7 separate regions of the Homo sapiens genome follow, and all the other regions are linked to region 6. The links are contacts of gene promoters, found by promoter capture Hi-C in blood cells and fetal thymus (Javierre and others, 2016). All regions are on one chromosome and are shown on one strand. The core of a region is centred on a gene start or on the middle of the fragment in contact, and the rest is flanking DNA. Distances in the headings are between cores, read along the strand shown. Region 1 holds the start of NCMAP (non-compact myelin associated protein). Region 2 overlaps SRRM1 (serine and arginine repetitive matrix 1). Region 3 overlaps NCMAP (non-compact myelin associated protein). Region 4 overlaps RCAN3 (RCAN family member 3). Region 5 overlaps RCAN3 (RCAN family member 3). Region 6 holds the start of IFNLR1 (interferon lambda receptor 1). Region 7 has its middle 5.6 kb from the start of SRRM1.

Region 1 (3,362 bases), core at 463-2,962, 370 kb before region 6:
CCACAGCTCATCTCGGCCCCAGCCAGCACAGAGCCCAGCAGGGACAAGGTGAAGAAAGCCACAGGCCATGAAGGGGTCATGGGAACCCCCTTCCCATTTCCTCCTCCCCTCCCACCAGGCATTCATGGTCCTTTGGTGTCTCTTGGCTGCCCTTCTGTCCCCTCTCCCCACTTAGAGGACATGAGTAAAGGTATTGGCCTACCTAGAGTTCCTGCCCCATCATCCACTCCCACGGGCTGATGGGACTCAGGATTCCAGGGTATTATGTGCCCTCTTCTATCCCGGTGCTCTGGCTGTGCCTGTCACTTTCTACTACCACCACCAACACACACACGCACACACACGCACACACGTGCACACACCCACATGCACACACATGCACACAAGCGCACACACACACACATGCACACATACACACATGCACCATAAGAGGGGGTGCCTATAATCTGTTGCTCTTGGCTTCTGCTTATAACTGTTCCATCCACCTAGACCACTGTCTCTAGTATCCATACCCACCTCTTAGAACCAGCCATCTGTAAATTCACTATTTGTGCCAAGCATTGTACTTCATATGCATTCATTCATTCATTGGACAAATATGTATTGAGACCTACTGCATGCTGGGCACCGTGCTGGTGCTGGGGATACAAGGGTGAACCAAATAGGCATCATCCCTGCCCCCAAGCAGCTGCTAGCAGACATTAATAGCTCATGTTCATTGAGTGCCTACTATATACCCACCCTGTATTAAACACTTTATGAGTTATCTGATTTAATCTGTCAGAGAAATTGTTTCATTTAAGGAGCACATCAAACTGAAACATAGAGAAAAGTGTGGACTTGCCCGAGACTGTTGGACGGCCTTGGCTGAGGGGTAAAGCAGGGACTCCAAAGCGCTGCCCTAACCACCACCTTTCCTTTCCCTGCCCCACTCAGATGCCACCTCCTCCAAGGGGCCTTCCAGAATCTTCTCCCAGACTCAAGGGCTGCCTTGGTCTCTCTAATCCAGCCTTCATATTTGACACAGCCATCTCCTCCCACAAGGATACCCAGAGGACTGGAGCCGTCTCTGCATCCTTCCTCAGGAGCGCTGCTGGATGAGCGACCCCCGAGCCCCTCCAAACGTGCTGTGGATGGAAACTACGGCCCTGGGCTCCTTCTCTGCCGTGGGTTTTCATCTCGCTGAATCGCAGATCTTCCGGAGGGGCCTCTGCATAGGGCAGACCCATCAAGGCGCCCATTTAACAGATGGGGCGGATAAGGCCCCAAGTGGGTAAAAGTTCCTTTATCTCCAGGCCGGGTCAAGGTCGACTCCCTTTTCTTCCAGCGAGCCTCGGCCCCTCCGCCAGATGCTTGGGTGGGGAGGGGACAAGGAAACGACCTCGTCTCCAAGACCCACTGGAGATGATCAGCCTCCCTCCCACCACCCCGGACCAACGCCCTCCCGCGCAGACCCCAGGCACTTCCTCCAACAGATGTGGGGGTGAGACTGGGGACCCCTCGTCCCCACCCCCGGGCCCTCCTTCGCCCAGCGCGGCCGGCAGGTGGACAGGAAGCCACCGCACCTGGGCCGGACCGCTCCTCGCTCCCCGCAGCCCCGGGCAACCCCGGCGACCAGGCGCCTCCTACCTGCTCTGTCGAGCCCCGCTCGGCCTCCCGCCGGCACCGCCGCGCTCCCAGCCAGGGTCCCCGCCGCCGCCCGGCGCTGCCACCCTGGGATCCCGCCCCCGCCCGGGGCGTCCCGCCCCCGGCCCCGCCCCGTGCAGGTGATCCTGGGGAGGCCGGAGAACGCGCCGGGGGTGCCAGGGTCCCGCACACTGGAGTGGCGGCGCCTCCCCGTGGTGTCCCCGCTCCTGGGTCCTTTTTGGGACTGGCTCTGGCACTCCCGGGCACTCAGTCCAGTAGAGAAGTCCAGCAGGAGGCTTCCAGGTCGGACTCCTCCGCGGGGTAAAGAGAGGGAAAGGGCCTCACAAACACACCCAGGTGAGCTCCAGGCACTTTGAGTAGGGTCTTTAAAGGAGCACGGCGCTAATCTGATTGAAGGTTTTGAGGGGCAGCTGGAGATTCAGACAACCACAGAACGTTAGACCGGGAGGAAACAGGCTTGGCAGCCGGCAAGTGTCAAGAACTCTTGCCGCTGTAGGATCAAAGGCTCCTTCCTCCCCAGGCTGTCGAGATTCCAGCTGTATCCCAGGAGCCCAGGGCGATATCCCTGGCAGGCAGCGGGTACTCAATCAATATTTATAGAAAGCGGGAAGAGATCTCGGAGAGGGGATCTCTTCTCTCAGAAACAGGGAAGCTGAGGCCCAGGAAGCAAAGGTGAGCACAAAGTCTTATAGCAGGTTAGTAACAGTATCAGGAGTGGAGGCTGGTTTCCCGGTTCTATTTTCAATTGATTTCCAGAAAGTGATTGCATCTGGGCCGACTGCCTTGCCGCTCAGTGCCTGTGAGATGCTTTCAAACTCTCCTCAGCTAAGAACTAAGATTTTTATAGGAAGAAAACACGTATTTTTATAGGAAACTCCAAGGTAGTATTTATTTATTTATTTATCTTTGAGACAGGATCTCACTCTGCAGCCCAGGCTGGAGTGTGGTGGCACAATCTCGGCTTACTGCAACCTCTGCCTCCTGGTTCAAGCGATTCTCTTGGCTTAGCCTCCCGAGTAGCTGGGATTACAGGCACATGCCACCACACCCGGCTAATTTTTTTGTGTGTGTATGTATATATATATTTTGGTAGGGACAGGGTTTCACCATGTTGGCCAGGATGGTCTTCAACTCTTGACCTCAAGTGATCCACCAGCCTTGGCCTCTCAAAGTGCTGGATGAGCCACTGCTCCCAACCCATTTTATTTTATGGAGACTGGGTCTTGCTCTCCTGCCCCAGCTGGAGTGCAGTGGCGGGATTTCGGCTCACTGCAGCCTCTAACTCCTGGGCTCTAGCGATCCTCCCACCTTGGCCTCCCAAAGTACTGGAATTACAGGCATGAGCCACCATGCCCAGCTGCAAGGTGGTATTAACAAATATTGATTGAGAGTATAATCCTGTAATTCTACTTTCTCATCAAAGACTTGAGACACTTGAGTATGGTCTTTAAGGAGCATGGTGCTAATCCATGGCTTCAAGAGCTTCCCTGTTGTGGGGGAGGCAGACCTGGTTACAGGGAGAGGCCACAATGTGGGGAGAGGAGTCCAGTGGGAGCCTGCTCTGGCCCTGAGGCCTGAGTTCCACAGTAAATGGCACTGGGGGGGGCCACTTCAGGATGCTTCTGGAAGTTTTTCCAGGTTTGTTTGTGGGGGCAAGAGCCCCCAGTGCATGGTCTCAGGTTCAAATCCTGGCTCCACTGCTTACTATTCGCAAG
Region 2 (3,271 bases), core at 418-2,917, 470 kb before region 6:
GCTCTGTTGCCCAGGCTCCCAGGCTGGAGTGCAGTGGCGCGATCTCAGCTCACTCACTGCAACCTCTGCCTCCTGGGTTCAAGGGATTCTCCTGCCTGGGCCTCCCAAGTAACTGGGATTACAGGTGTGCGCCACTATGCCCGGTTAATTTTTGTATTTTTCGTAGAGATGGGGTTTCGCCCTATTGGCCAGGATGGTCTTGAACTCCTGATCTCGGCCTGCTCACCTCGGCCTCCCAAAGTGCTGGGACTACAGGTGTGAGCCACTGCGCCCAGTCTAGATTTTTAATAGGGAAAGATGTTCTAAATATACTGTTAAGTTAAAAAGTGAGGCAACATATCTACAGTTGAGCTTCTGTGGGGTTTTTTCTTTTCCTTTTTCTATATGCACAGAAAATTTCTGAATAAAAGCTTTAGGAGGTTGGAAAAAGAATGATACGTTTCCAATTTTATACTTCTGTTTTCTGTTTCACTATTGTATCCTAGGGACCTATTACTTTTATAACAATGTAACAGAAAATTAAATTTTGCAAAAGGACTTAAAACCAAAAAAAGAAACAATCCTGCCTCCTCAGACAGATTTCTATGTAGGCAAGTAAGTACTCATGCTGCACACACAGATGTTTATATACCAAGTATTTTTTAATAGGAAATACAGGTAGAAAAAAAACTTTCATCACCATCCATACCAGATGAAGACTGCTGGTTTTGTCGTCTGTATTGGCGTCTCTGCTGCACAGAATCTGCTGCAGCCATTTTGCCACCTTTATCTTCTTCTGAAAGATGGATGCATTTAGAAAGTGTTTCTTTAGTTAAGCATATAGAAAATTTGCAATTTGAATAGGAAAATAGTCTCTCAAACCTTCATTTGGTTGGATCAAAAATACAACTACTATATATTTTTTTTAAAAAGAGTTTAAAATGCCAATTCACAGGCTGATTTAGACTATCTTCACCAAATATAATAAAATTTATTTAGGCATTTACTACAGGTCAGGCTGGTGCCAAGCATTTTACAAGCAGATACAGTTAACTGTCAAAAACCTCTACTGTCCCTATTTCGGAGATGAAAGAAGAAAGGCTCAGATAAGTTAATTAAAACAGAAACAGTTAAATTCTGGAATGGGGGATTCCACCCAAGTCTGTCTGCCTTCAGAGTCTTAGCTCTTACCCTATACTTAATCTTCAAGCAGAAGGGGATGACCAAATGTGCAAAAAATCAAAATCAGCTTTAAGAAAAACAAAAACAAACAAACCAAAATCACAAAAAAAAACAACAAACTTACCCGATTCAGATAACTCTACTTTTCTAGGCTTCGGTGCTGGTGAAGGGGATTCTCTTTTCTCAGTACCTTTATGTTTTGTCACTAAAAAAGAATAAGAGTGGAAAAAAGCTTACGTACAAAAAAAGGTCTATACAAGATGCTTTTCTTTTAATTTTTAAAAATTTATTATTATTTTTAAATAAAGATGGGGTCTCACTATATTAGTCAGGCTAGTCTTGAACTCCTGACCTCAAGCAATCCTCCTGCCTGAGCCTCCCAAAGTGTTGGGATTACAGGCACAAGCCACTGTGCCCAGCCAAGATGCCTTCCTGCTATTACAAAAATGGGTGTGACTACTCTCAAAAAGAATTTATGAAGACTTAAAAAATTCCTGTAAGACCTTGTTGTCATATCTGAACATTATCTGAAGTGAGACAAGAATTTTTAAATGTTTAATGAAAAGCCTCAAAAAGTTCTACAATGATTTTCAAATCTTGAGATTCTCCCAAGAAAACCAACAGTTAAAGGAAATTGGGAGCTGCTACTGAGTAGAACAAGCTCAGTAAAGTAAACCTCTGTGTGCTACACGAGCTCCACAATCTAAAATACACACCCTCCACACCCACACTCACTCCCTCACACTCAACTTCAGAGACTTCATCAACATGAAAGCTTTTAAGCAACCACAATAGGTGGGTTCAGAAAAGTAAAAGATGATAAATGATTAAGAAATAAGATCTCATGAAACTTTCACAAAGATATTTGGTCTAGAAAAGAAGAATGACTGCCCAACAGGTTAAAGGTTCTTTATGTAGAGCATAATCTTCACAATAGCACAGGGGATTTAAACTACCCATGAAAAAAAGCAGACCGCCACAAATAGTAAAAATGATTAAATACAAAGACGAGGATTCTTTCCAAAGAGCTAGAAAGAAAAAAAGGCATTTCTATACCTCAAGTAGTAGGAGAGCAGTGGGTATCCTATGAATTATCCAATTGTCTTTTACCAATAACATAGAAATATGGTAACTACCTTTTGTAAGCCTGCTGTATTAGACACACTATTAACACAGTAGTATCACATCCCTTTCTCCCTGTTCCATTTCACAAGAGAGGAAACCTGAGGCTTAAAAAGAAGCAACTTCACCTCAGTCACAAAGACAATTTAAGTGAGCTAAGATGTGAATCCAAGAATCTATTTTTAGGCCATGGGTTTTAATCTCAACAACTAACTCTGCTTATAGTATCTATCCATTGCTACAACTAAAATCATAAGTATATTCACATATAAACATATATATACCATAAATTAACCTAAAACACCACTTGAGAACATCCCAATAAGAAATAAACCTACAGACAATTTGATCCTCTCAGGATCCTGATACCTGTTTTGTGTGATTAAAGCAATTGCCATGGAATGTTTGACTCAGAATACAGATACATCTCATTTAACAGACACTCACATTCAGAATTCTGTAATGGTTTATTCCAAGGGGCAGTAATTAGAGAACCAGTGATCTAACACAGTAATCGCATCTTTGCTAAAGAAGTCAAAATGAAGAATTTACCAGTATGCCTTTTCAATGAACAGACTTTTCCCTTTCTCTCTCTTTTTTTTTTTTTGAGACAGAGTTTCGCTCTTGTTGCCTAGGCTGGAGTGCAATGGCATGATCTCGGCTCACTGCAACCTCCGCCTCCCGGGTTCAAGGGATTCTCCTGCCTCAGCCACCTGAGTAGCTGGGATTACAGGCATGCGCCAACCACGCCCGGCTAATTTTGTATTTTTAGTAGAGACAGGGTTTCTCCATGTTGGTCACGCGGGTCTTGAACTCCCAACCTCGGGTGATCCACCCACCTCTGCCTCCCAAAGTGCTGGGATTACAGGCGTGAGCCACCGCGCCCAGCGACTTTTCTTAAAATTTCTACGTAATAAGCCATTTGGACAAATCACTGGATTGGGTAAAGAATGGCTATCACTCAATTAGATATCAGGAATCATGACAG
Region 3 (3,317 bases), core at 697-3,196, 400 kb before region 6:
GAGCGTAGCCTTCAAGACACGGCCCAGGCCAGGCACGGTGACTCATGCCTGTAATCCCAGCACTTTGGGAGGCTGAGGTGGGCAGATTACTTGAGGTCAGAAGTTTGAGGCCACCCTGGCCAACATGGTGAAACCACATCTCTACTAAAAATACAAAAACTAGCCGCTTGTGGTGGTGCACGCCTATAGTCCCAGCTACTTGGGAGGCTGAGGCAGAAGAATCGCTTAAACCTCCAGGAGGTGGAGGTTGTAGTGAGCCAAGATTGCGCCACTGCACTCCAGCCTGGGTGACAGAGTGAGAGTCCATCTCAAAAAAAAGACACAGCCCAGTCCCCAGTCGCCCCCCAAGGAAGACTCCTACTCATACTGAAATAGAGATTCTGTCCCCTACCCTCCCACAGCAGCTCCCTGCAAAGAAACATCACCAAGGCATGTGTCCACTGCTTTGTCTGCCATTAATGCTACATTTCATTGTCAGGTCCTTGAGGATGGAGACTATTTCTTGTTCTTTCTCATATCCTTTTACCTTCCTCAGATAAAGTGTCTGGGTCTTCTCTCCTTCGCCGTGCAAGGGCTGGAATGAGTAACTGAATTTCTCCCAGCTTCATTTGCTCATCTGTAAAACGAACTGCCTCTCCCTTTCCCTAAGGGAGCTGAGAGTGAGAAGTGGGGTATGGAAAGTGTTTTTCAGTGTTCACTAAATGGCAGCTCTAAGTATTATAGTGAATATTAGTAAATATTTGCTGAACTAACTTAGAGACAGGGAAATCTGGAGCTGAAAACTAGGAGACATTCTTTCTATAAAAATAAGCACAAATTAGCCAGCCTGGTGGTGGTGTGTGCCTGTAGTCCCCACTACTTGGGAGGCTGAGGAAGGAGGATCACTTGAGCCCAGGAGTTTGATGGCACAAACTACAGTGAGCCATGATGGCACCATTGCATTCCAGCTTGGGTGACAGAGCAAGACCTTGTCTCTAAAACTAAATAAATATAATAAAATTTTAAAAGCACAGACAAGTATGAGAATTTGGAATGAAAGCCTTTCCCACCCAGCACTGCCCACCTCTACTCTCAAGGGGAGATGCCGGCCCTGCCTCAGTACGTGAAGGGTATTAGCATGCATTTCCCTAAACCTTCTCCTTCTAGCCTCACCAACATCAAGCTAAGAAGACTCACCAGTGAGGCTTTCATACAATTCCTTTTAAATACAGAAAAGAGATACAAATAGGTGGCTGCGGATCAAGGTTTGCTTAGTGAGAGAGACATGGAACAATCATTGGCCAACCCAAACCCATGGACATATTCACCGTGATACCAACACGCACAAAAATGACAGAAGCCACCATTTGAGTGTTTGCCGTGTGCCAAGACCTTGTGACAGATATTTTCTATCCATGCCCTGATTCAACTAGCAAAATGCCATGTAAGATAAGTTTTCCTTTCCCCTTCTCTCAAATGAAGACCCTGAGACTTGATAATATAAAGCCAACTCTCAGCCGGGTGCAGTGGCTCACACCTGTAATCCCAGCACTTTGGGAGGCCAAGGCGGGTGGATCACTTGAAGTCAGGAGTTTGACACCAGCCTGGCCAACATGGAAAATTAGCCAGGTGTGATGGCAGTTGCCTGTAATCCCAGCTACTCTTGAGGGAGGCTGAGGCAGGAGAATTGCTTGAACCCGGGAGGCAGAGGTTGCAGTGAGCTGAGATCTCACCATTGCGCTCCAGCCTGGGTGACAGAACAAGACTCTGTCTCAAAATAAAAATAAAAATAAAAACATAAAGCTAACTATCCACACTTACGTAGCCCCAAAGCTACAGAGCTGGTTTGTGAACCTGGGTGTTGCATGTGGCAACGTCTGCATCCTTCCTACCACACCACCCTGTCCCTGACACACACTGGTGGGGTCTATGACCAGTCACTGCAGGAATACATGGAGGCACACACATGCACACACATACACACACTGACCAGTAATGCAGCCACCTAAGGCCACCAGGACACAGGCTCCTCTACAGGTCCTGCAGGGGTGACCTCCTGGGTGCCGAGTTCCAGGTGCAGACTGTCTTTTGGATGGGCCCAGTAGCTCTTCTCTCTCAGAGAACAGTGAGGAATCTCAGAGCATATCTTGCCTCATCTCGGGACTGAGGGCTCTCAATTGCATCTCTGTCCCTGCTGCATCAGAGAAGGTGGGAGGGAGGGTGGTAGCACAGCCATGGCCAAGCATGTGGGTGTTTTCATGTGTGGGGCCCCAGCAACAGTTGTTAACCAAGTGAGGGCCAGCAGGAGCACTTCAGTATCAAACGTCCCTAAGACCAGGGGCCATGACCATAGAAAACACAAAGAGGACAGGGAGAGGGAGGCCAGTCTTCACTGACAGAGGTTAATTTAATAATAATAATAATGCGCTATGTGTCCGGCACCGCACTCGGTGCTTTATGTTGGAGATCTCACTTAATCTTCATACCAGTCCTGTAAGGAGGGCACAGGCACTTTGTCCATTCTGAAGATGAGGAATCTGAGGCTTGGAGCAGAGAAGAAACTGCCTTAACTTCACAAGGCTAATATGAAAACTATGCCAACCATGCCAGGATTCAAACCAGGGTCTATCCGATTTCACAGCCCCTTCTTCAAAAACCCTCCCAGCAAATCCACAAAGCACAGGTGGCCCAGCATCCAGGGCCCAAATCAATGTGGGGCTTTGATGAAAAAACCCACACAGGCCAGGGTTCAGCAGACAGACGAGGGCCCTTGCCCCAGGCCTATGACCCTGACCCTGACTCCTACCCAACTACTCCTGCCCTTGGCCACACTCTGAGCCTCTGTGTTCAGCAGAGCCTCGATCACATTTACAGAATCTACAAGGGACTGTTGTTTTCTTGGGTTGTTTACAAAGGCCTGTGTGGGAGGCGAGTTTGGGAAGTGATGGCAGGTCATAACCATTTATTCACGGATCCATCCTTCTCTGACTAGCTCTTGGCCAAGTCTAAGAGCTGAATGTGGAAGATAAACGCTGTCAGACTCCCACCTGTCCAAAATATCTCCCCTGAAGCTCTGCCCTAGGGGTACCCCCTCTCCCTCTGGCCTGGCTTACAAGTTCCTCCCTGGATAAGACAATAGAGAGACTACCAACCCCGGCAGACCTCTCCTCAATTGACCACCTGTAACTCAGAGCAGGTAACCCACGAAAGCCCTCGACCCACCAAAACATTGGGATTGATTTCTCCCAATCTCCTGAGGGATGGGAGATTCAGCAGGACTTGATCTCCTCCACAGACAAGTGGCTCACTACTCCCAAGCAGCTCCTGGAGATATTGGG
Region 4 (3,426 bases), core at 701-3,200, 330 kb before region 6:
CATCCAACTTTGTTCTTTGTTTTCAAGACTGTTTTGGCAATTTGGGATTCCTTGAGGTTCTATATGAATTTCAGGGTAGGTTTTCTATTTCTGCAAAAAAAATCATTGGGATTTTGATAGGGATTGAGTTGAATCTGTAGAGCACTTTAGGTAGTACTGACATCTTTTAATTTTATTTTATTTTATTTTTATTTTATTATTATTATACTTTAAGTTTTAGGGTACATGTGTACAACGTGCAGGTTTGTTACATATGTATACATGTGCCATGTTGGTGTGCTGCACCCATTAACTCGTCATTTAGCATTAGGTATATCTCCTAATGCTATCTCTTCCCCCTCCCCCCACCCCACAACAGTCCCCGGAGTGTGATGTTCCCCTTCCTGTGTCATTGTGTTCTCATTGTTCAATTCCCACCTATGAGTGAGAACATGCAGTGTTTGGTTTTTTGTCCTTGCGATAGTTTGCTGAGAATGATGGTTTCCAGTTTCATCTATGTCCCTACAAAGGACATGAACTCATCATTTTTTATGGCTGCATAGTATTCCACGGTGTATGTACTGACATCTTAATGTTATTAAGTTTTCCAGTCCATAGATACGGATGTCTTCCCCTTTATTTGTGCCTTCTTTAAATTTCTTTCAACAACGTTTTGTAGCAATGTCTATAACTCTAAACCCACTGTATAAAATACAGACTTGACTAGGATTTCTTAATTCTAAACTATGATTCTCTAGTATTTAATTGAGCCTCAAAGCTAACTAAATTACTAATTCTTGGCCAGAACAGCACTATAAAACCAATTAAACAAACACTTAGTGAAACCTTAGGATGTTTCATGCTCTGTTAAAAACACAGTTAACTATAACAGAGATATTCTTCCTTTGAATCCTCTTTTTTAATTCCCAAATTTAAAACATCACTTTCCTTAAAGGATTCTACTTTTTCTGGGCTGAAGGCTATGCTAGAATGTACAAACAATTGATTTAGTCTAAAAATCATAAGATCACTTCACTCAGCTTCCAAATATCATTTACTTTTCTTAAATAATATTTTTGATACTTCTTTAAATGGAAGGTACAGAATCAAAGCTTGAAAGGAAGATTTAAATTGTGCATATGATTATACAAGCCACAAAAGAATTTAGGCCAGTGTATCTGGGAGCATAATTTCAGATTAAATCTCCTACGTACTATTTTGCCTCACTCAGCTCACAATTCTGTTTCTCGATCATAGCATTGCATCACTAAGCCTCAACAACCATCTTACAGAATCCATTCATTCAACAAACATTTAACAGGTGTTGCTTTGCACTGGGAACTCAATGAGATGCTCAGTGTCACCCATCACAGAGCAGGACAGCAGAACAAGTAGTGATGTCTTAATATCCCTCAACCACCATAATCAGAAACACAAATCAAATGTCCTATGGTGAGGAGGTCAGATAAACAGTTTTATATACAAAGGGCAGTACTTTGCAAGGGGACTAGATTCTACTGCATTTCTTTGTACAGGATGTCCTGCTGAGAAGACTGCTAACACTAACATTTACTGAGTCCCCTCAAACACCAAGACCTAAGGCAGAAAAAAACAGTCCCATTTCTCATGTTATAAAAACCTAAATTATATTTTGAAAACTCCTCATGTTCAAACCAGAAGCAAGATTAATTTGCTTCTGGAGGGGTCAGGCATGGTGGATCACACCTATAATCCCAGCACTTTGAGAGGCAGAGGTAGGAGGATCGCTTGAGCCCAGGAGTTTGAGACCAGTCTGGGCAACATAGCAAGACCTTGTCTCTTAAAAAAAAAAAAAAAAAACATCAGGCCAGGCACAGTGGCTCACGCCTGTAATAACAGCACTTTGGGAGGCTGAGATGGGCAGATCACTTGAAGTCGAGAGTTTGAGACCAGCTTGGCCAACATGGCGAAACTCTATCTCTACTAAAAATACAAAAATTAGCTGGTTGTAGTGGCATGCACCTGTAGTCCCAGCATTTTGGGAGGTCAAGGCAGGCAGATCATCTGAGGTCAGGAGTTTGATACCAGCCTGGCCAACAGGGTGAAACCCTGTCTTTACTAAAAATACAAAAAAATTAGCCGAGCATGGTGGTGGATGCCTGTAATCCTAGCTACTTGGGAGGCTGAGGTGGGAGGATTGCTTGAACCCGGGAGGCAGAGGTTGCACTGAGCTGAGACTGCACCACTGCACTCCAGCCTGGGTGACAGAGTGAGACTCCATCTCCAAAATAAATAAATAAATAAATAAATAATAAATTAGCTGGATGTGCTGGTGCATGCCTATAGTCCCAGCTACTCGAGAGGCTGAGGTAGGAGGATTGCTTGAGCCCAGGAGGTCAAGGCTGCAGTGACCTATGATCATGCCACCACATTCCAGCCTGGGTGACAGAGCAAGACCCTGTTGCTTTTTTAAAAGACAGAGAAAAAAAAAAACTGGGGTTAAAGACAGCAAACAAGCAAATACAATCACATTGGGACAAATCCAAATCTGTCAAAGAAAAATGAAGCACTAAGCCTGTCGCACTCCTGATGGAGCTATTGATTAGCAGAGTACATGCATAAAATTAACAACCCTATAGCTGAGAAATATACATTGAAAGATAAGTCCTTTTCTCCACCTATTTTTCTTACAGTTTATTTTTCTATGATTTATTATCCCTCCAACACTATTTTTAAGAAATATTGATAAAAACATAGAGCCAAAATCTAATGATCTAGAGCAAAGATTACATTTACATGATAATGGCACCTGTGTTATTTATTCTACTATTCGGAAGAATGTAAAAGCTTACTCCAATAGTTAGAAGCTTATAAAGACAAAAACTTTTTCAAGCTGGGAAAAAAAAATTTTTTTATAGAGATGGGGTCTTGCTATGTTGGCCAGGCTGGTCTCGAACTCCTGGGTTCAAGCAATCCACCTGCCTCGGCCTCCCAAAGTGCTGGGACTATGGGTGTGAGCCAATGTGCCCAGCCAGAAATTATTTTTTGAAATTAAAGTGTTTAATTGCAATCGGGATTATTCTGCCTGTAATCCAACAAAAGCAACTGTTTTATTTTTTGCACATTCATAGATAACCTGAATAAACAGCTGATTTCAGGAGAAACTACAACAAAATAAGACACTGATAGAAGAAAAATGTAAAGGAAACATTTGATTCTGCCCATATCTTAAAAAATGTTTCTTTAATAGAAACGAGGTCTCACTCTGTTGCCCAGGCTGGTCTCAAACTCCTGGTCTCAAGCGATCCTCTTGCCTTGGCCTCCCAAAGTGCTGGGATTACAAGCATGAGCCATCATATCTGGCCTTGATTCTGTCCATATTTTATATCCAACTGATGATCTATAGATAACCATAATATAAACATTTTATATTTTGTCATTTCAGATATTACTGTTAAGGGTATTAAA
Region 5 (3,187 bases), core at 688-3,187, 350 kb before region 6:
GGCAGGGGCAATAGAGGGGTGTGTCTGGGTCTGTTCTGCTGAGCTCTCACAGGGGTTGAACTCAGGTCCCCATTCTTCCCCCAGCCCCTTGAAAAGGAGCAGCTTTGTTTACCTTTCCTTTTTGTAATAGTTTTACATTGGCTTTGTGTAAGATTTCATTTGAACAAAGAGCAGAGTCCTATGGCTTAAAAATAAGTATTCGAAATCCCACTGCACTAGATAACCTCTACTGTCATTTATAGTTCCACATTTTGGAGATTTTTTTTTTTTAACCGAGACAAAAAGTAAGTCTTTACCCGGAATAAATCATTTTTAACCAAAGGGGAAACCAGGGTAAAAGGTTTCTTGGGGAAGAGCTGAAAGTGCAGTGGTTATTTACAGAGTGAGCAGTGACTCACCACCTTGAACTCTGGCACTGCACGGCATTAATGTTCAACAGGACTCTTGTGAAAGGAACAAACACAATATTGCACTTCTCTGTCTTATTAGCTAAATGTAAGTGATGCGTATTGAAAATACTACACACAAAAAAACTCAACTCAATGGACTGATTTAAAAATAGTTACTAACTTTATTTGTATTCGTTTTAAAAACAGAACTTGTTACAGGTAATCACGAAGCTTCCAAAAAAAAATTACATTCTGCTTTTGTCATCTTGATAGGACAAGGAATGTTTAGATGTCCTTAAAACACAGGGTAAAGTTGACAAATAACAAACTACTACAAACTATGGATTGTCACTTCAAGCACACTAAAATGTGGAATACATGTACATAAATTACTGACCAGTTTTTTGCAATACAAAGAGTATGCACTACAGCTTATATACCATAAAGGTAACATGCCCCAAAATATAACAGAAGATCACAAACACGTTCGGAGAAAATAATAACTTTGACTCTTGGGTTCAATTAAGATTGAAGTGAAATGATTGGGAAAGTTTTCTGAAACTTGAAGGGCACGCACATTATAGCAGAACCGTCAATCAACAATCACGTGGGGTTGAAAAGCAGCAAGAAGAATATGGCACGGTAACAGGGGTAACCACCTTTCTCTCTCCTCAGTCCCCAATTTGAGTTAGGAAGATTGAGGACTAAACAGAAAACAGTATTTAAAAACATGTATTATCTGCATAGATAGAAATCTTCCATTACGATGAGAGTGAACATTCGGTCAAAGCTATGCAGGAGTGCCAAGAGTCTGCAGGATATGATTCTGTTTCAAAAGGAAATATATAGGTTTACATCCAGACAGACCACATAACGAATTTAGTGAAAGATCTTTACGCTGTTATTTAAGTGGGTAGAGACGCTGACTCAGCCCCAGGTTAGTTCTTGACCTTGGCTAAAAACTCTACTTTGAACGTGATGATTTTTATAATCTTTGTCAGTGAACCCAGCAGTTGTTGCTTTCAGTTGTCTTATGGATTGTACATTTGGTAATAAGAAAACAGTCTCCAAATGATTAACATTTTCCCCTGATTCACAATGAAACAACGGCATTCTGACGAAGATGATCCATACACCGAGGGGAGTTTAAAAGACAAATAAGTATTCAGCGAATTGTAGGACAAGGTTCATAAATCTTTTAAAACTTTTTAAATAGTGAGTTTCTGTAACATGGACTTACAGCTCCAGCTAGGAAGCAACTATTGCCCCATCTTTTGTTCCTTTATATTGTCACCCCAATTATAAATAATTTGTTTCTTTTAGTACAGGAAGATATAAATGCAAATGTGCAAAAAAAGGAAGAAGGAAAGATGGACCAAGTTCACCTGTTTGGTACGTACAGGGTCCACAGCTCTGCAGAAAGGGGAGAAACCTGGTAGACAGAGGGCCTGACGCACCATAGCATTGAGCACATTTTCCACTGCTTAATTATGTGTGAGATTTTCCCTTTTAAAATAAATCTATGGTCTGTGAAATAGTCTGTATAAAAATATGAAGCCTTGAATAGGCCAGTCATAGCAGTTCCGTCTTGAATAGAACTCAATTTTACAAGCACGGAGTGAGAGTATCATTCCACTGCAAACTCTTTTATTTCCACAACATATTAGATCTCATTCTGCTTTAGTAGAGTTACCTCTTAAGTACGACTATTAGTCATTTCATTAATATGAAAATCTGGGAAGGCCCACATAAAATACCAACATAATTGCTGGCTACCAAGATAAAATTATTTAGGCAGATTCCAGCCCCAATGGTTCAATGATAACAAAACTACAAAACATGGGACATCAAATTCATTAATAAAATTATTAAGTCACCTCTTCCATCGAATGATGAGATTTTTCTTATTCACTGTTTCCCATCAGGGAAAAAAGAATCCTCCCACCTCATGCCTTTTTTTTTTTCTGATGCCAGGAATTAGTATTCATTGCCTCTTTAAGAGGCCAATGCAAAAAAAGGTAGAAAAAGCCCTAGCCCAGGAGTTGGGATTGCCAGTTGTAGTCCCTGGGTTGCCTTGCTGGGGGTGCCTAAGTCAGTGCCATAACCTCAGTTTTTCTAATCTGTGTAACATGGGGATAGAGTATATGATTTCCAAGGTCACTTTCACCTCTGTGATTGAGCCTCTAAGAAAGCCAAATCTTTTCACTTTGTAATCATGACATTTTTAAAAGATGGAGTTAATATGAATGGGAAACTTTTTTTTTTTTGAGCCAGGGACTTGCTATGTTGCCCAGGCTGGTCTTGAACTCCTGAACTCAAGTGATCCTCTCACCTCAGCCTCTCAAATAGCTGAGACTACAGGCACACACCACTGCACCTGGCTAAAGACTATATTCTTAAAGAATAAAAGTACTGCACTTCACCTCTATCTCCTGGTATCTCTTCAATTCAAACACACCATTAATGACTACAATATTTTATTTAAGGCCGGGCGCAGTGGCTCACGCCTGGTTAATCCCAGCACTTTGGGAGGCCAAGGCAGGCGGATCACTAGGTCAGGAGATCGAGACCATCCTGGCTAACGTGGTGAAACCCCGTCTCTACTTATAAAAAAAAAAAAAAAAAAAATTAGCCGGGCGTGGGAGCGGGCGCCTGTAGTCCCAGCTACTTGGGAGGCTGAGGCAGGAGAATGGCGTGAACCCGGGAGGCGGAGCTTGCAGTGAGCCGAGATCACGCGGCTGCGCTCCAGCCTGGGCGACAGAGTGAGACTCTGTCTCAAAATAAATAAATAAATAAAT
Region 6 (3,458 bases), core at 15-2,514:
CCAAAGCTGATCCCAGTTTCAAATAATTATCAAAAAATTGGAAACGAAATATGATCAGAAAAGAAGAAAGTTGAAAAAGAAAATCCTCATCACCCAAAGACAACAACCATTAATATTTTGGTAATTATTATTCCAAATATCTTTCTATGCATACAGACAGACTCACACACACACACACACACACACACACACACTTTTTTTTTTTTTTTTGAAACTGAGTTTCACTCTGTCGCCCAGGCTGGAGTGCAGTGGCGCGATCTCGGCTCACTGCAACCTCCGCCTCCTGGGTTCAAGCGATTCTCCTGCCTCAGCCTCCCTGATAGCTGGGATTACAGGTGAATGCCACCACGCCCGGCTGATTTTCTGTATTTTTAGTAGAGACGGGGTTTCACCATGTTGGCCAGGCTTGTCTCCAACTCCTGACCTCAGGCGATCCACCCGCCTCACCCTCCCAAAGTGCTGGGATTACAGGCGTGAGCCACCGCGCCCGGCTACACACACACTTTTTTAATGGGCCTATGTTTTAGCACTCGCTTTTCTGTTTCTCAGTGTGTTGCAAACACCTCGGTGTCGATACACACCATTCGGCAACGTCCTCCTAAAGGGCCGCATAATATTGCGCGTCGTGGCGTGTGCCTTACTGGGAAGCTACTGCTGTCCAGGTGAACACCACAGCCTTCGGGGTCAGAAAGACAGCTTTCCCCAGAACAAGCACCTGAAGCTCTGGGGCCTGCCGCTCCCCGGGAGAGAAGTACGTGGAGAAGGGCAGCACGGATCCGCCGGGATCCCCGGGGGCATTAAAGGGAATCGCGTGTGTAAGGCGCGGAGCTCAGCATCCGGCTCAGAAACGCGCTCGGATCCCGCCAATGGCATTGAGGCCGCGTAGCCAAACCGGCCTTGAACTCTCCCTAATCCTGCCAAAATGGCCCGTCCTGGAGCACTGGACTGGCCGTGGGTTATTGATCATCAGCCGGTTTCTTCCCCTCCCCTGCCCTTCCCCCGTGCACGGATTTACTGATTTTTTTTTCCGGGAATTGAGTAAAACAAAACTAAGTGCAGATGAAGCAGAGGTACGGGCGAGTTTCGAGCGCGGGGACCGGCGCGCTCCCCCCCCCCCCTCCCCCCGCGGCGGGGCTGTCCCCAGGGACCTTCTCAGTGAATCCTAGGCGGCAGGGACGGGCCCGCGGCTCTGCGGGCCATTGGCTGCCGACTGCGTCACCTGCCCGCGGTGGGCTAGGAGACGGGAGGCGGGAGGCGGGAGGCGGGGACCTGGGCCCGGGCGGGGACGCCGCGGCAGGAAGGCCATGGCGGGGCCCGAGCGCTGGGGCCCCCTGCTCCTGTGCCTGCTGCAGGCCGCTCCAGGTAAGGGCGCGGGGCCGCGGGAGGGAGGGGGAAGAGGGCTCCCCGGGCCGGGCCGCGCCTACCCTCGGACCCGGAGCTCCTGGGACAGGCACGGGGTCCGCAGCCACCCGAGCCGGGTGCGAATCGGCCCTGCCTACGCGCCCCCAGTTTGCTTCTTCCCAGGACTGAACAGAACCGGGTCTTTGATATTCCTCTCCCGCAGGAAACGAATCCAGTTTCCTAATGCTTCCAGCTTCAGGAGAACTGGAGAAAAAAGACAGCGGCAGTTTGATACTGCATATTTTTTAATAAAGTGCTTTTTAATGTTTCCTAAAGAAAGCACTGATCCCTGCGTGAAAACCACACTTGACCCTAAAGTGTGGACAGCAGGGAAAGTGGGACCGATTGATGTCCCTTCCCGTTCCTGCCAGGCCTCTGGTGGGACGGAGCTCTGGTCGCCTGTGCCCTGCTTTCTAACAAGACGGCTTTCTTTTGGTGGTGGTTGTTGTTTTGTTGTTGTTTTGTTGTTGTTGTTGTTGTTGTTGTTTTCCCACCTCTACTGATGAGTAAGGTGTCAGGTACAAAATTCCTCGCCGTAGGACCCAACCACCAAACCTCACCGCCCACGACTCCAACCGAAGCAGGGAAGAGAAGGTCCAGAAATCGCCCCCAGGATATTTTCCTAGTCTTGGACTCACAGTTTAAAGAGCTGTAAAGGTCCCTGGGCATAATCCAATCATCATAAAAGCCTATATTTATTCAGCAACTTCTTTGTGCCAGGCACCGCATTATTCTGGAAGCCTCACGACCCAGCCATCCTCGGAGGTAGATATTATTTTTACTTTTCCGATGGGAAAACTGAGGCTCAGAGCAATTCAGGGAATTCCTCAAGAAGGATGGCAGAGGTGAGGCACACAGAAGAGAGAAGAGGGGCTAAAGCAAGCCTGGCTAGCTTTTGCCTCCAGGGTAGGCACGTGGGACAGGCTGTCCATCCACTGGGTCACTAGGCCAGCCAGGGATGCTCCAGCCCCCAGTGCCCACAGCAGCGTTCTCTGTGGCTGATGAGGGACCGTGTACCTGTGTGTGGAGGGAGGGTGGGGTCTTCTGTTCCCCTTTCACTGTCAAACCCAGACCTTCTTGTACTTTCACCTGATAAGTATTTAATATACACAACACTAACTATGGTGTGATGATTTAGGAGTAAGTACAGCCAGATCTAAGTTCAAATACTGGCTCCCACACAAACTGACTGTGTAGCCTCAGGCAAGTTAGTTAGCATCTGTCTCTGAGCCTAGCGCCCTTTCCATGGAAGCAGAATGAATGACACCTACCCCATAGGGTGGTCTGTCCCAAGGGTGATTGAGGTTTTACATGTAAAGAGCCAAACTAGTGCCTGGCATCCTTTGAAGGCTTCATAGAGGAAAGTTGCTCTAACTGCTGTTTTTCTCATGTGACCTAGCTCGAATCTGGGGACTGTCCTGCCCATAGGATACCTTACAAGTGGCTTGCAGACAGCCTGGTCTCCTGCTGGTCACCCGTTAGGAAGTCCAGAAGCTGGGAGTAGTAATAGCACTAGCCTCGTGGTGATACAGTCCCAGCTAGAGGACACAGGATGAGGTGGAAGCAGGCACCCACTTTTGGGTCTAGAAGGTGATGGGTAGGCAGCCGAGGCTGGGGACAGCCATCCACAGAACTGGACCCTCCCTCCCTGATGCCATTTTGCAACCCGTATGGATTTCCATCATGGCACATGGGACACTTCAGGACCCTGAATTCTCCATGGGACCATGAGCTCCTATAGGGCAGGAATGAAGTTGTGTTCTTCTTTGAAACCCCTGGCACACCGTGGTCAACAGATCTTGTTTGACTCGTAGTGGTCAATAGATGGAATAGTTGGAATCATAAAGCTCAATAGACCCCATGAGAACCTAGAAGACAAAGTACAGTCAAGAGCTCGGACTTTGGAGTTGGCTAGGCCTGGACTGAATCTGATTCTACAACTTAATAGCTGAGAGGGCCTTGGTTTTCCCATCTGTAACGATTATAATTATTATAATGAATACCTACCTCCTAGGGATGTAATGAGGATTAAAAGAGAAAGTGCAGGTAAACTGTTT
Region 7 (3,079 bases), core at 42-2,541, 450 kb before region 6:
CCTGCTTCAGCACCCTGAGTAGCTGGGACTACAGGTGTGTGCCACCACACCCAGCTAATTTTTAAATTATTTTTTAGAGACGGGGGCTTTATTGTATTGCCCAGGCTGGTCATAAACTCCTGGGCTCAAGTGAGCCTTCCACCTCAGCCTCCGAAAGTGCTGGGGTTATAGTCGTGAGCCACCATGCCTGGCCTATTTTTCTTTTCTTTCTTTCTTTTTTTTTTTTTTTTGGAGACAGGATCTCACTGCGTCACCCAGGCTGGAGTGCATTGGTGTGATCTTGGCTCATTGGTGTGATCTTGGCTCACTGCAGCCTCCACTTTCTGGGCTCAAGTGATGCTGCCACCTTAGCCTTCTGAATAGCTGGGACTACAGGCTCACACCACCACGCCTAGTTAATTTTTGTATTTTTTTCTTTTCGAGATGAAGCTTCACCGTGTTGCCCAGGCTGGTCTCAAAATCCTGAGCTCAAGCAATCTACCTGCCTCATCCTCCCAAAATGCTGGGATTACAAGCACGCACCACTATGCCCAGTCCTATTTTTTATTTATTTATTTATTTATTTTTTTTGAGACAGAGTCTTGCCATCTCCCAGGCTGGAGTGCAGTGGCCCGATCTCGGCTCACTGCAACCTCCGCCTCCCAGGTTCAAGTGATTCTCCTACCTCAGCCTCTTGAATAGCTGGGACTACAGGCATGCACCACCACGCCTGGCTAATTTTTTGTATTTTTAGTAGAGACAGGGTATCACCGTGTTAGCCAGGTTGGTCTTGATCTCCTGACCTCGTGATCTACCCGCCTCAGGCTCTCAAAAAGTGCTGGGATTACAGGCATGAGCCACCGTGCCCAGCCCCTTATTTTTTTTTAAATAACACTTAACATTTCCTGGGATTATTATCTATTTTGTTTATATGTTTACTATCTTCTTCCTTTTTTTTTTTTAAATAAAAAAGCTCTATGTGGGTGTGGATTTGCCCATCCTTGGAGCTCAATAAACATTTGTCGAAATGAGTATATGAATGAGAGTCTAAGGCTGGGCATCATGGTTCATGCCTGTAATCCCAGGACTTTGGGAGGCCAAGGCGGGAGGATTGCTCCAGGCCAAGGGTTTGAGACCAGCCTGGACAACATAGTGAGATACCCCCAACCCCACTGCCCCACCTCTATTTTTAAAAAAGAGTCTAAGACTCAATTTCCAAAAGTATTTCTATCAATGAGTGTCTGTTGGTTAAAATGTTGCAACCACTGATTCTATCAGTAAGAGTCTATACCGGAAAATCTGCTGAGGCCGATGAGCTGCCTACCTGATGATCCCTGCAGATGCAGTGGATAACTACTTGGCAGTGAAAGTTTTTGCAGACACCACCTGTTGCTCACTTTGATGCTGGGCAGATCAAAATAGGTGTTGGCTGGGCACGGTGGCTCACGCCTGTAATCCCAGCACTTTGGGAGGCTGGGGCGGGTGGATCATTTGAGGTCAGGAGTTCAAGACCAGCCTGGCCAACATGGTGAAACCCCGTCTGTACTAAAAAATACAAAAATTAGTCGGGCAGTGGTGGCACACGCCTGTAATCCCAGCTACTTGGGAGGCTGAGGCGGGAGAATCTCTAGAGCCTGGAAGTGGGAGGTTACGGTGAGCCAAGATCGCGACACTGTACTCCAGTCTGGGCGACAGATTGAGACCCTGTCTCAAAAAACAAAAACAAAAAAACAAACAACCAAAATAGGTCTTAATGCCGAGAAGCCACTCCTAGTGAACCTACCATGGCTCTTTTGCTGGGTCTGCTCTTTGAATCCTCAAACTCTGAGCCTCAGAAAGCTAATAGGCATCCAACCTTGGTGCCGATCGTCAAGGCACAGACTCAGATTTTTCCATTTCATCAACAGCTTTTCCTCATTGCTTGGTGATTGATGTTGATGGTTTAGGAGTTTCACCTGTTGCTTGTTCCCTGTGTTCTTCAGAATCCCTCCTACCGAACATTTATTCCATAGGCTGGGGCAGGTTTTATACTTTTCTTATTTTTGTTATCATCTTCACTTTTGTTTCCATCGTTTGCCTCTTCCTTCCACTTCTGCTTTTGTGTTTCCTGGATACAACAGGATTAACAGTCTTCCTAAAGTACTTCAAAAATGTGTAAAAAATGTATAAGCTTAAATTTACCAAGGAAGCTGTGGAATCCAACCAATAGCTCAGATGAAAATGACTGAAGAATAGAAACAGATGCATTTGCTCCAGGAGATATTTTTGAGCACATTAGTGAGTATATTATCTATTGCCGCATAACAAATTACTCCCCACATTTAGCAACTTAGAACAATAAACATTTGTTATCTCTCATTGTTGCTATGCATCAGGAATCTGGGGAGGCTAAGTTGGGTGATACTGGCTCAGGGTTTCTCAAGAGTATATAGTCAAGGTTACAGTCAACTGGGGCTGGAAAATATATTTCCAAGAAGACTCACTTATATAGCTATTGGCTAGAGGCCTCAGTTCCATCCCACAATGATAGGGCATCTTTGGTTTCCATGACATGGCAGCAAATGATCCAAAAGAGAGCAAGACAGAAGCCACAATGTCTTTTGTACCATAACCTCAGAAGTCATGCACAATAGTTTTCATAATATCCTATTGGTTACACAGGTTACCCCCATTAAGTGTTGGAAGGGACTACAGAAGGACATCAATATTATGTCCTTCTGTAGCAGGGGGAGGGTCATCGGGGGTCATCTTGGAGGCTGGCTACCACAGTAAGTGTGTAAGTTGAAACTATTTCAGTGTAGCAGCTTGTATACTTCCAGATCTAGAATGGATGTATTCTTTCTCTCTTTCTCCCCTCAGATCTTTGCACATATTCTGTTCCCTTGGTCTGAAACCACTGTTCCTTCCCAGCCCTTCCTTTGCCCTCCCCACTTTGCCTTTCTACCCTTTAACCCTTTAACTGGCCAGCTCTGATTCTTCCTTTAGGATTTAGTTTAGATATGACCTCTTCCAGGAAGCATTTCTGCTTAGTAGGGCTCAGTATTTATCATCTGATTATCTTTTAGGGAGTTGCTGAGCCTCCCAAAAACCCTGGGTCTAG

Evidence for each region. Contacts are between HindIII fragments. The CHiCAGO score rates a contact against its expected background, and 5 or more counts as called.
Region 1: the fragment with the promoter of NCMAP here is called in contact with the fragment with the promoter of IFNLR1 in region 6 in 12 of 17 cell types (naive CD8 T cells, endothelial precursors, activated CD4 T cells and 9 more); the score reaches 8.6 in naive CD8 T cells.
Region 2: a fragment that was not itself captured here is called in contact with the fragment with the promoter of IFNLR1 in region 6 in 2 of 17 cell types (naive CD8 T cells and total CD8 T cells); the score reaches 7.7 in naive CD8 T cells.
Region 3: a fragment that was not itself captured here is called in contact with the fragment with the promoter of IFNLR1 in region 6 in 1 of 17 cell types (total CD4 T cells); the score reaches 6.0 in total CD4 T cells.
Region 4: a fragment that was not itself captured here is called in contact with the fragment with the promoter of IFNLR1 in region 6 in 1 of 17 cell types (endothelial precursors); the score reaches 5.9 in endothelial precursors.
Region 5: a fragment that was not itself captured here is called in contact with the fragment with the promoter of IFNLR1 in region 6 in 1 of 17 cell types (total B cells); the score reaches 5.5 in total B cells.
Region 7: a contact is called between a fragment that was not itself captured here and the fragment with the promoter of IFNLR1 in region 6, in 11 of 17 cell types (naive CD8 T cells, total CD8 T cells, total CD4 T cells and 8 more). The highest score is 13.7, in naive CD8 T cells.

What each region holds. Positions count from the first base shown.
Region 1 is chr1:24,554,437-24,557,798 of GRCh38, reverse strand. NCMAP (non-compact myelin associated protein) reads right to left here and starts at 1,712. Exons shown (of 4, transcript NM_001010980.5): 1 at 1,630-1,712. NCMAP-DT (NCMAP divergent transcript) reads left to right here and starts at 1,775. Exons shown (of 3, transcript NR_109781.1): 1 at 1,775-1,983. The HindIII fragment of the contact is 15,304 bases long and covers 1-3,362 here.
Region 2 is chr1:24,658,814-24,662,084 of GRCh38, reverse strand. It overlaps SRRM1 (serine and arginine repetitive matrix 1), which reads right to left. Exons shown (of 17, transcript NM_005839.4): 10 at 1,286-1,366; 11 at 689-775. Among named protein-coding and RNA genes, the nearest start is that of SRRM1, 17 kb to the right of the region's middle. The HindIII fragment of the contact is 543 bases long and covers 1,396-1,938 here.
Region 3 is chr1:24,588,277-24,591,593 of GRCh38, reverse strand. The region is part of intron 1 of NCMAP (non-compact myelin associated protein); the gene reads right to left. Among named protein-coding and RNA genes, the nearest start is that of NCMAP, 34 kb to the right of the region's middle. The HindIII fragment of the contact is 8,325 bases long and covers 1-3,317 here.
Region 4 is chr1:24,517,608-24,521,033 of GRCh38, reverse strand. All of the region lies in intron 2 of RCAN3 (RCAN family member 3), which reads right to left. Among named protein-coding and RNA genes, the nearest start is that of RCAN3, 16 kb to the right of the region's middle. The HindIII fragment of the contact is 1,714 bases long and covers 1,094-2,807 here.
Region 5 is chr1:24,538,402-24,541,588 of GRCh38, reverse strand. RCAN3 (RCAN family member 3) reads right to left here. Exons shown (of 5, transcript NM_013441.4): 5 at 549-3,187. It overlaps NCMAP-DT (NCMAP divergent transcript), which reads left to right. Exons shown (of 3, transcript NR_109781.1): 3 at 1,713-2,315. Among named protein-coding and RNA genes, the nearest start is that of NCMAP-DT, 16 kb to the left of the region's middle. RefSeq lists an enhancer at 236-530. The HindIII fragment of the contact is 2,630 bases long and covers 623-3,187 here.
Region 6 is chr1:24,185,095-24,188,552 of GRCh38, reverse strand. It overlaps IFNLR1 (interferon lambda receptor 1), which reads left to right and starts at 1,264. Exons shown (of 7, transcript NM_170743.4): 1 at 1,264-1,362. The coding sequence starts at 1,305. RefSeq lists a silencer at 1,002-1,491. The HindIII fragment of the contact is 11,665 bases long and covers 1-3,458 here.
Region 7 is chr1:24,636,147-24,639,225 of GRCh38, reverse strand. No RefSeq gene overlaps it. Among named protein-coding and RNA genes, the nearest start is that of SRRM1, 5.6 kb to the left of the region's middle. The HindIII fragment of the contact is 1,720 bases long and covers 432-2,151 here.